Regions from separate parts of the Homo sapiens genome. Here regions 2 and 3 are each linked to region 1. Evidence: promoter capture Hi-C in human tissues and cell types (Jung and others, 2019). All regions are on one chromosome and are shown on one strand. Each heading gives the region's core, a stretch centred on a gene start or on the middle of the fragment in contact. The rest is flanking DNA. Distances are from core to core; before and after follow the strand shown. Region 1 holds the start of FSBP (fibrinogen silencer binding protein). Region 2 holds the start of RAD54B (RAD54 homolog B). Region 3 overlaps VIRMA (vir like m6A methyltransferase associated).

What was found. The method cuts DNA at HindIII sites, captures the fragments that hold promoters and counts their contacts. A contact is called where the count stands out against the background at its distance.
Region 2: a contact is called between the fragment with the promoter of RAD54B here and the fragment with the promoter of FSBP in region 1, in 1 of the 25 tissues and cell types used here (mesenchymal stem cells).
Region 3: a contact is called between a fragment that was not itself captured here and the fragment with the promoter of FSBP in region 1, in 1 of the 25 tissues and cell types used here (mesenchymal stem cells).

The regions. Positions count from the first base shown.
Region 1 is chr8:94,435,133-94,438,373 of GRCh38, forward strand. It overlaps FSBP (fibrinogen silencer binding protein), which reads right to left and starts at 1,812. Exons shown (of 2, transcript NM_001256141.2): 1 at 1,363-1,812. The coding sequence starts at 1,736. The region is part of intron 3 of RAD54B (RAD54 homolog B); the gene reads right to left. RefSeq lists an enhancer at 1-168. The HindIII fragment of the contact is 647 bases long and covers 1,517-2,163 here.
Region 2 is chr8:94,473,448-94,476,403 of GRCh38, forward strand. It overlaps RAD54B (RAD54 homolog B), which reads right to left and starts at 1,668. Exons shown (of 15, transcript NM_012415.3): 1 at 1,554-1,668. RefSeq lists an enhancer at 1,401-1,630. The HindIII fragment of the contact is 13,618 bases long and covers 1-2,956 here.
Region 3 is chr8:94,499,015-94,502,131 of GRCh38, forward strand. VIRMA (vir like m6A methyltransferase associated) reads right to left here. Exons shown (of 24, transcript NM_015496.5): 17 at 360-492. Among named protein-coding and RNA genes, the nearest start is that of RAD54B, 25 kb to the left of the region's middle. The HindIII fragment of the contact is 4,891 bases long and covers 1-3,117 here.

The DNA of each region.
Region 1 (3,241 bases), core at 562-3,061:
TCTGCATAAGTAGCACAGTATAAAACAATTTTACTGCGTAGTTTTCTGGATATCTAGCTATTGGGATTTCATCATTTGTCATCACAGTGAACATTTTAACCAGTGGCCCCAAGAATTAATCCACTGTGTATTCATGTCCTGGATTCCCACTGGTGATATTTTTTTTACTGTGCTATCAAGTAGAAATAAGCAGTATCTGGTAAGAAGCTAGGCTCAAAAATACTTTCCTAGTAAATTACCAAAATAACATATGCACTTGGCTACAAAGTGGTTTTTTTCTGCTTCTCTCCTAATTTCAAAGGGATTTCATAGTAATCAATAATTTGCTTATATAATGCCTCTTCCACCAATAGAAAAGCACATTGTGTAAAGCTTTGTTTGAAAGGCTCCTCAAACTAACAAGGAGTTTACAATTTGTTTAAATTACCCTAAATGGTTCAGAATAAGAATGTAGCTGCCATTTTTATATTTTGCCAGAGGTTACAATCTGAATTAGTGGCAAGATAATACTTTTGAAAATTCCAAGGCAAATAGTTACATAGAAGACAAGTTTAACCAAAAAATTGCTTCTAACTCTAAAAAAACCCAGTTGCTCTTAGGGGTATTTTAAAATTCATAATTTGATATCCTTGCAAAGCAGTAAGAGAAAGCTTACTCTTTCCTATACGACCCAAGATCAAAGTGAAACTAGACTATTAAGGAATAAAAACAACAACAACAAAAAACTTTTAATTTTATTAAGTAAACTGAATCCCTAATTAGGCATTAACTCCCTTTAGTTGTGTTCATCTTTATTTTAAACGTGTTAGAAAAATAATTTAAACTGTCTTCATATACACAATCATGCCATTAACAAGTTTACTTATTGATTTTGTTTATATTTGTTAGTTAACATATATTCAATAAGTGTAGACAATGACAATTCATAAAAAAGCAAGGTTCCATTTCTCTAGAAACTGCTAACTTTATATAAATTTTATATAAAATTGAAAATTCCAGTGAAATGTAATCTTAAATGAGAAAAAAAGTATCTCTCAGAAGCAAACTAAATAATTTAATTTTAAAGCTTAAGAAGTTTATGAAGTGATGTCACAAATTTCAACCCACTTATTCCTCCCTAACCTTTACTTTTAGAAACTACAGGAGGGAAGGGGGAGGGGAAGACAGTAAAAAGTAGCTTAAATGCAACAGAAAAATTCCTCATAGCCTCACTTTTCTCTTTTTAAAAAATGCAAAACAAAGACACTATTCATTGCTCCCGTTGTGGGGATGCTTACTATGCATATCTCTATCACGACTAAGCCAAAGCCCAATAGATAGGAGGCGCCATAATTTTCCATAACAAAACAAAATAAAGCTTACCTTTGTATGTGGTTCCTGTCTCTTACCAGGCAAAAACTGGAAATCTGGGGAATCATCTCCATAACTTTCTTGGTTGGCTCAGAAATATTGCTTTTAAAATCTGATTGGGTCTCTTTTTGCTGCAATAGCTCCTGTTTGGCATATTCTTTGAGCCTTTTATAAAGGGTGCGTAGGCCCTGTGCTGTTCGAGGAGGGCGGTCTACTCCAATTGCATTATAGTTAACTGCTATGATATCCCAACATCTATTCTTTTCTACTATTACTGAATGTTTATTAGTGTGTTCTTCGAGAATTTTCACATATGGCTTCACAAGCTTTAGCAAATCAAGCTTTTCGGATAAGGTAAAATTGGAAGATCTAGCCTTTCCTACCATTGTTCTTTTCAAATTAAGTAGGCAGTTTCTGAAACCACCATGCAGCCTTCAGCTCTGCTCAGCTCTTTTCACAAACAGAAAAAGATCAGGCTTAACTAGGCTAGCCTCATTTAGGCCCACGCCTACAGGGGAGGGTTTATTAAAATTCCTCCAGCTTAAGCTGACGCAGGTTCAGGAAATCTGCTTAAGCCAAGCCTGACCTACATAAAGCTTCTCACTGAAGAAGACAGGAAGGCACAAGCAAAACACACTTGTGTATAAAGGGAACAGCTCGAGACAGGATTTAATACACAAAGGTCTAGAGATAAGCATGGAACACAGCTAAAAATTAGCTAATTTAGTGAGAATATCAAATTTCACACATGTATGCCTAGCTGACAGACTGAACTGCATTGCAGTATCACTTTAATAAAAACAAAAGAGGAACTGTTTTGTGCTATTTATTTACAAATCCAGTAGACAGAAAACTAAAAGATATGAGTAGTGAATGTAGTAATTCCTAACAGAGCCTCTCATCACTGTTTCTGAGCTGAGTGTTCTCCCTTACAAAATCTGCATAATGCTGGATCTGCTGTCAATCAGGAATTGCATATCCTCTAGCTAGTTAGGTTACACCCAGACCCAGACTCCACAGTAAAGCTAAGCTTCTCCTTCATTTTACAGTCTACATTAGCCTCTGCATATTTTTTTCACTTAAGAAAAAATTTTTATAGAACACTCAATCTAAAAAGCAGGTAAAAATCATGTTTTTAAAGCAATGGATTATTCTAGCCGTAATGTATGTGAATTTGCTAGCCTGCCTTATCATGTGTAAAAAATCACTGTTCATGGTGAGAAACAGTATAATCACGCCTTAAGACTCCACATACAAAATCACATTTGCTATTATAATAGAGCCAGATTTTTTATTTAGCTATATTCACACAGTTTGGACTATGAAAGGAAACAGCTAGTCTAGCCATTTTCAAGGCCACCAGTTTCGGTGCTTAGAATATATTTGTTAACCCCAGTATGAAAATATATGATACATAATAATGTAAGCAAGACAAACCTATTTTCTCACAATATACATATTTTTCCAGATAGGGGAATAAATTAGAACATACTTGAACATAGTTCTATCCAATAAAACTATTACTGAACAACTGTGATAGTTATTAAGAGGTAGGAAAAATAAATTGTTTTTAATTACTGACCACGTATATAAATGCTCCCAGGCACTGTGCAAGACCCAATGAAATCAAAAATGAATCTAGATACAGCACCTATCCAGGGAACTGTAGTTCCACAGAAATGCTATAAATTCTCAATTATCTTGTTTTTCATTCTTTTAACAATGGAGAAGCAAATTACATTTACTGAGCTCTCACTGTGAGCCAATGTGTTAAAAGCTTTAAGTGTATTATCTTTCAGAAAACAGTGAAAGATTGCTGGATGTTCTACGGAATGCTAGATGTTGTCTGGTATACGCTACTGAGTAATTTGATTCCATAATAGTTCTACCC
Region 2 (2,956 bases), core at 418-2,917, 38 kb after region 1:
CCTCATCTTTAAGAGGGGGTACCATAATCATGCTTACACACCGGACTGTTGGGAGGATTAAATGAAATATGTAAAGCACTTAGAACAAAACTTGACACATAGTAAGCACTCAATGTTATCTGTTATAATTAGTATTATCGGAGAGTAGAAATGATGAAGGTCCTGTGAAGGAGATAGAGAAGGGGTAGTTCAACATACAGGACAATGACCAGAATCTTTGGGTTCGTCTGGGCTTTAAAGAGAGGTATGTGCAACCATCAAACGTCGAGGATGCAAGAATGTAAGTACACCAACTCTACCAAGAACCAGCAACGGTCTCTCCCTGCTGTTGCTGCTTGTCGACTTCCAACTACATTAGGTAGTAATTATTTCACTTCATGCCTTAAATTGCTCCTTTGAGACTCCGGCTATATAGATGGTTCCTAATTTAGGACGGTGTCACTTAGAATTCTTCGACTTTTAAGAAAGCCATGAGCATTCAGTAGAAACTGTACAAGTAACCACACAACCGTCTGTGTTCATGATTTTGCCCAACTGTAGATTAAGGTAAGTGTTCTGAGCATGTTTAAGGTAGGCTAGCGCAGCCATAAAAAGGAATGAAATCATGTCCTTTGCAGCAACATGGGTGCAGCTGGAGGCTATTATCCAAAGCGAATTAAAGCAGAAACAGAAAATCAAATATTGCATGTTCTCACTTATAAATGGGAGCTAAACATTGGGCATTCATGAACATAAAGATGGCAACAATAGACAGTGGAGACAACTAGAAGGGAGAGGAAAGGAGGAGCAAGGGTTCAAAAACTATTGGGTAACATGCTCACTACCTGGGTGACAGGATCAATCGTATCCAAACCTCAGCACCACGTAATATACCGATGCAACAAACCTGCACATGTACCCCCAAATCTAAAATAAACAGCTGAAAATAATTTTTTTGATAACAAAAGTAGGCTAGGCCAAGCTTTAATACTCAGTAGGTTAGCTGTGTTTTAAATCCATTTTCCATTTGGGATATTTTCAACCCCGTAGTAAGTCGAGAAGCATCTGTTCCTACCTAGAAAATCTTCCATAAGGTAATCGATTAAAAGGTTTTAAGGAAATACAAGAAAAACCTGACCAGTGAAGAGGTAAAAGCCCCTAAAGAAGGCGTACCGACACTCTCCAGGACGCTCGCAGAGCCTTCACCCCCTGGCCCTGGGGAAGGAAATTCCCAGTGCAGGAGTGAGGGAGAGACCCAAAAGCCAAGAGGAGCCTGCGCAAAGCGACCGCAGTGGCGGCCCCAGGGGCCACTGCCCAGAACCATCCCTCCCACACAAACGCACAACCCTAAACCCCCACCGCCCGCCCTTCGCTCCAAGGCCCCCGGGGCCAGCAACCAGGGCGTCCCTGGCACTTCAGACCAAAGCTGCAGGCCCGCAGAAGGCCACTTCGGTCGCTCCTGCCGCCTTCCCTCCCTCCTCCCTCGTTGGCCTGCTCCGGCGCCACTCCCTGCTTTGTCCCGCACGAGCCTACAGGCTGTCGCAGCCTCCCGAGCTTCCCCCTGCAGGACGCACCGGCGAAAATCTGACAGAAACCACTGGCCCTGCAAAGAAGTCCTTCTGGTAACCAGCTATCCCCTCGCCGCCGGAGAAGCTCAAGGATCCCGCCTCGGCGAAGCCAATCGCGGACGAGCCCGCCGCGCGTGCGCACTACCTAGCCGCTGCACTGCCCTGTCCTGCCCTACTCTGATTGGACGACCCTACTGCATCACTGCGCATGTATCTTTGCGTTTGGCTTTAAATGCTTCCAAGTTTGATTCAAGTTTACGGTTCAATTAAAAAAATACTGGTTTAGTGCCTACTTTCAGACACAGTGTAGATGCCGAGGCTACAGACCTCACCATCTGCGTGGATAAGTAATAAATACGGTATGATTCGGTGTGTGCGATAATAGAAATGCGTGCATCGCAGAAGTATACGATATCCTATTGGTTATTCATTCATCCGAAAAAACATTGACTTAGCGGTGCCTGCAGGATAATTTTCAAACTCTTTGTTAGGTTCTGGGAATATAGAAACGAATACGTGATTATTAGGCTCTCAGAAAAGGGGAGCCGCCTCCGGACTTGGAAAAGCATTAAAGCATGTTAAGTAGGAAAGTTACATCATTCAATGAGTATTTACTGAGCACCTTCTAAGTGCTAGGCGGTAACACAGTCAACTATCCCTGAAAAATGGTATTAGAAAGGCTAATCTGAAAGGAGAGAGAATGGCTAAAGGTTGTTTATTGAGTTTTATCCAGCAGTTTGACAAAAAGTAAAAGCTAAAAAATATCAAGGGTGAAATGAAGATGTGAAACAATGGGAACTCTTGGGCTGCTGGTAGGAGTGTAAATAGGTACAGCCATTTAAAAGAGTAATTTGAGGCTGAGAGCGGTGGCTTGTGCCTGTAATCCCAGTACTTTGGGAGGCCGAGGCGGGCGGATCACTTGAGGTCAGGAGTTCGAGACCAGCCTGGCCAACATGGTGAAACCCGGTCTGTACTAAAAATACAAAAATTAGCTGGTTTTGGTGGAGCGCGCCTGTAATCCCAGCTACTCAGCAGACTAAGGCGGGAGAATCGCTTGAACCTGGGAGGTGAAGGCTGCAATGAACCGAGATGGTGCCGCAGCACTCCAGCCTGGGCAGCAGAGAGACCCTGTTTCAAAAAAAAAGAGTAATGTGCTTAAGGAGCTTTTATCCTGGGGACTTTTTCCAGTCATAAAGAGCACCTCATAGGTTGAGTTGTGCTTTTGGCAGCTCCTGGAGCCAGCGTTACAAGAATTTGAAATGGGGACCTGCCAAGGTTGGGCACCTTAGTAAACCGCACCCCCCTCTTCTTTGGACTGGGACACATAAAGAGTAAGGGTAACCAGAAAACAAGCTAGCTTCATAGTGTCTGCAGCCTACCTTAATATCATCTGGGGAGTTCAGAAAATC
Region 3 (3,117 bases), core at 201-2,700, 64 kb after region 1:
AGGTTGCAGTGAGCCGAGATTGTGCTACTGCACTCCAGTCTGGATGACAGAGTGAGACTCTATCTAAAATAAAATAAAATAAAATAAAATGAACTAAAGTGATCTTTTTTATGTTGGATATTTAATATATAAAGTGATTTAACTTACGGCAAAGTATTTCTCTTTTTTTCAAGACAGGGTCTCACTATTTTGCCCAGGCTGGTCTCAAACTCCTGGCCCCAAGAGATCCTCCCACCTCAGCCCACCAGAGTGCTGAGATTACAGATGTGAGCCATCGTACTTGGCCAAAGATTTCAAATTTAAGAAACACCAAATACATACATACATATATACACAAACACAAACACACACATACTTACAATTGTGTCAGAGTTAAGAATTTGTCTCATAAATTCTAAAAATGAAGATGCAAGCTCTCCTGTGTCCTTACTAAATGTGCTGACCACTCGTTTCAGTAAACTATGCAGAGCACTACTGTTTTTCCTTAAAGAACTGTAAATAAAGAAAATAAAGAGAAGATATTATCTTAAAATATGAGCATATAAAACTGGTATGATAAATGAACTCACTTCAGACAGAATAAAACTTACTCCATCATTTTTAAAAATGCTAAGAAGTACTTTGGTGTGTCTTTGTACACAAATATAACAAAGAACCGTCAATAGTTACCAACTCCTTTTAAAGCTAAGCTTCAAGATCTTAAAAAAAAATTCCCCCAAATAATCATTTTATAAAATTTAACACAAGAGGCTGGGTGTGGTGGCTCACGCCTGTAATCCGGGCGCTTTGGGAGGCCGAAGGTGGTGGATCACTTGAGGTCAGGAGTTTAAGAGCAGCCTGGCCAACATAGGGTAACCCGGTCTCTACTAAAAAAAAATACAAAAATTAACGGGGGGTGGCAGCACACACCTGCAATCCCAGCTACTCGGGAGGAGGTGAGGCAGAAGAATCACTTAAACGATTGGGAGGCAGAGGTTGCAGCGAGCCGAAATCACGCCACTGCACTCCAGCTTGAAGGACAGAGTGAGGCTTCATCTCAAAAAAAAAAAAAAAAAAAAAACTTAACACAGAAAACTTGCCAGTTCCCTATTTATAAACCTTTTGGCCAGGCGCGGTGGCTCACACCTGTAACCCCAGCACTTTGGGAGGTCGAGGCGGGCAGATCACGAGGTCAGGAGATCAAGACCATCCTGGCTAACACAGTAAAATCCCGTCTCTACTAAAAATATAAAAAATTTGCCAGGCGTAGTGGTGCACGCCTGTAATCCCAGCTACTGGGGAGGCTGAGGCAGGAGAATCACTTGAACCCAGGAGACGGAGGTTGCAGTGAGCCGAGATTGTGCCACTGCACTAGGCCTGGGCAACAACAAAGAGAAATAGATTAAATTCAAAAATAAAAATGTTAATGGAAAAAGCATGGGTTCAAAATTGGACTACACCCATTACTAACCACTACACACAATCTTTAAGTGAGTCATACTTCCGTGGTCTATCAAAAGCTGGGGACCTATTAGAATGCCTAACATTTAAAAACTTGCAATACCAAGTTCTGGGGAGGATGAGGAGCAACTGGGGCTCTAATACACTGCTAGTGGGAATGAAAAATGGTATCTCTACTTTGGAAAACAGTTCGGTAGTTTCTTTTTTTTTTTTTTTTTTGAGACGGAGTCTCCGGTAGTTTCTTTTAAGGTTAAACACACACACCTATCATACAACCCAGTAACCCCACTCCTAAGTGTCTACCCAAGAGAAATGAAAACTGAGATTCACACAAAAACCTGTGTGCAAAGCTTTATTCATAACCACCAAAATTTGAAAACAACCCAGATTGCTAGAAAATTAGTCACCGATAAGAACTACATGACTCTAAGCATCTGTCAAAACACATAGAACTGTACACCATAAAACATAAATTTGACTAGATATAATTTTTTAAAAAATCAACAAGGGGTTGGGCGCAGTGGCTCATGACTGTAATCCCAGCACTTTGGGAGGCCGAGGCAGGTGGATCACGAAGTCAGGAGTTCGAGACCAGCCTGGCCAACATAGTGAAACCCTGTCTCCACTAAAAAAACAAAATATATACAAAAAATTAGCCAGGCATGGTGGCAGGCGCCTGTAATCCCAGCTACTCGGGAGGCTGAGGCAGGAGAATCACTTGAACCCAGGAGGCGCAGGTTGCAGTGAGCCGAGATCGCACCATTGCACTCCAGCCCAGGGGACAGTGCGAGATTCCATCTCAAAAAAAAAAAAAAAAAAAAAACAACCAATAAGGATATGAGGGAAAAAATAAGAATGCAGACTATGACCAATGAATCTAACTATATTACAAATGAACCATATAACCAAACTGAAGGAGACAGGGAAGAAATAAGCTGACATAAATAACTGAAAAACAGTTTTTTGACTGGATACACTAAGGCTAAAGACAAAAAGAACCATATACAACACTGTACTCCGATTGCTCAATTTGTTTCCCACAGGAGTATGGTTTAGTAATGAGTTTGAGACTGCTACTTCATTTGTAAACTAGGGCTAAACAAATAAGCAAATATAGATAATGAGAGCTGAATTTCTCACTGTTAGAGAATAAAATAATCAAGAAAGGGAAAAGGCTAGAATTCACTTCTGGTACTGGATCAAAGTCAAAGTATTAGTATGGGCCAGGTGTGGTGGCTCACACCTATAATCCCAGCATTTTGGAAGGCAGAGACAGGTGGATCACTTGAGCCCAGGAGTTCGAGACCAGCCTGGGCACCAGCTGAAACCCCGGCTCTACAAAAGATACAAAAATTAGCCAGGCATGGTGGCTTGTGCCTGTAGTAGTACTTGGAAGGTTGAGGCAGTGCACGAAATTTCCATGCACTATTCAGTAGAATGTATATTCTGTGGTTGTTGGATGGAATGTTCTGTATCTAACTGTTAAGTCCGTTTGTTCCAAGGTATAGTTCAAATCTATTGTTTCTTTGTTGAGTTTCTATCTTGATGACCTCTCTAATGCTTTCAGTGGAGTATTGAGGTCCCCCACTATTATCGTGTTGCTGTCTATCTTATTTCTTAGGTCTATGATTAATTGTTTTATAAATTTCAAAGCTCCAGTGTTAGGTGCATATATGT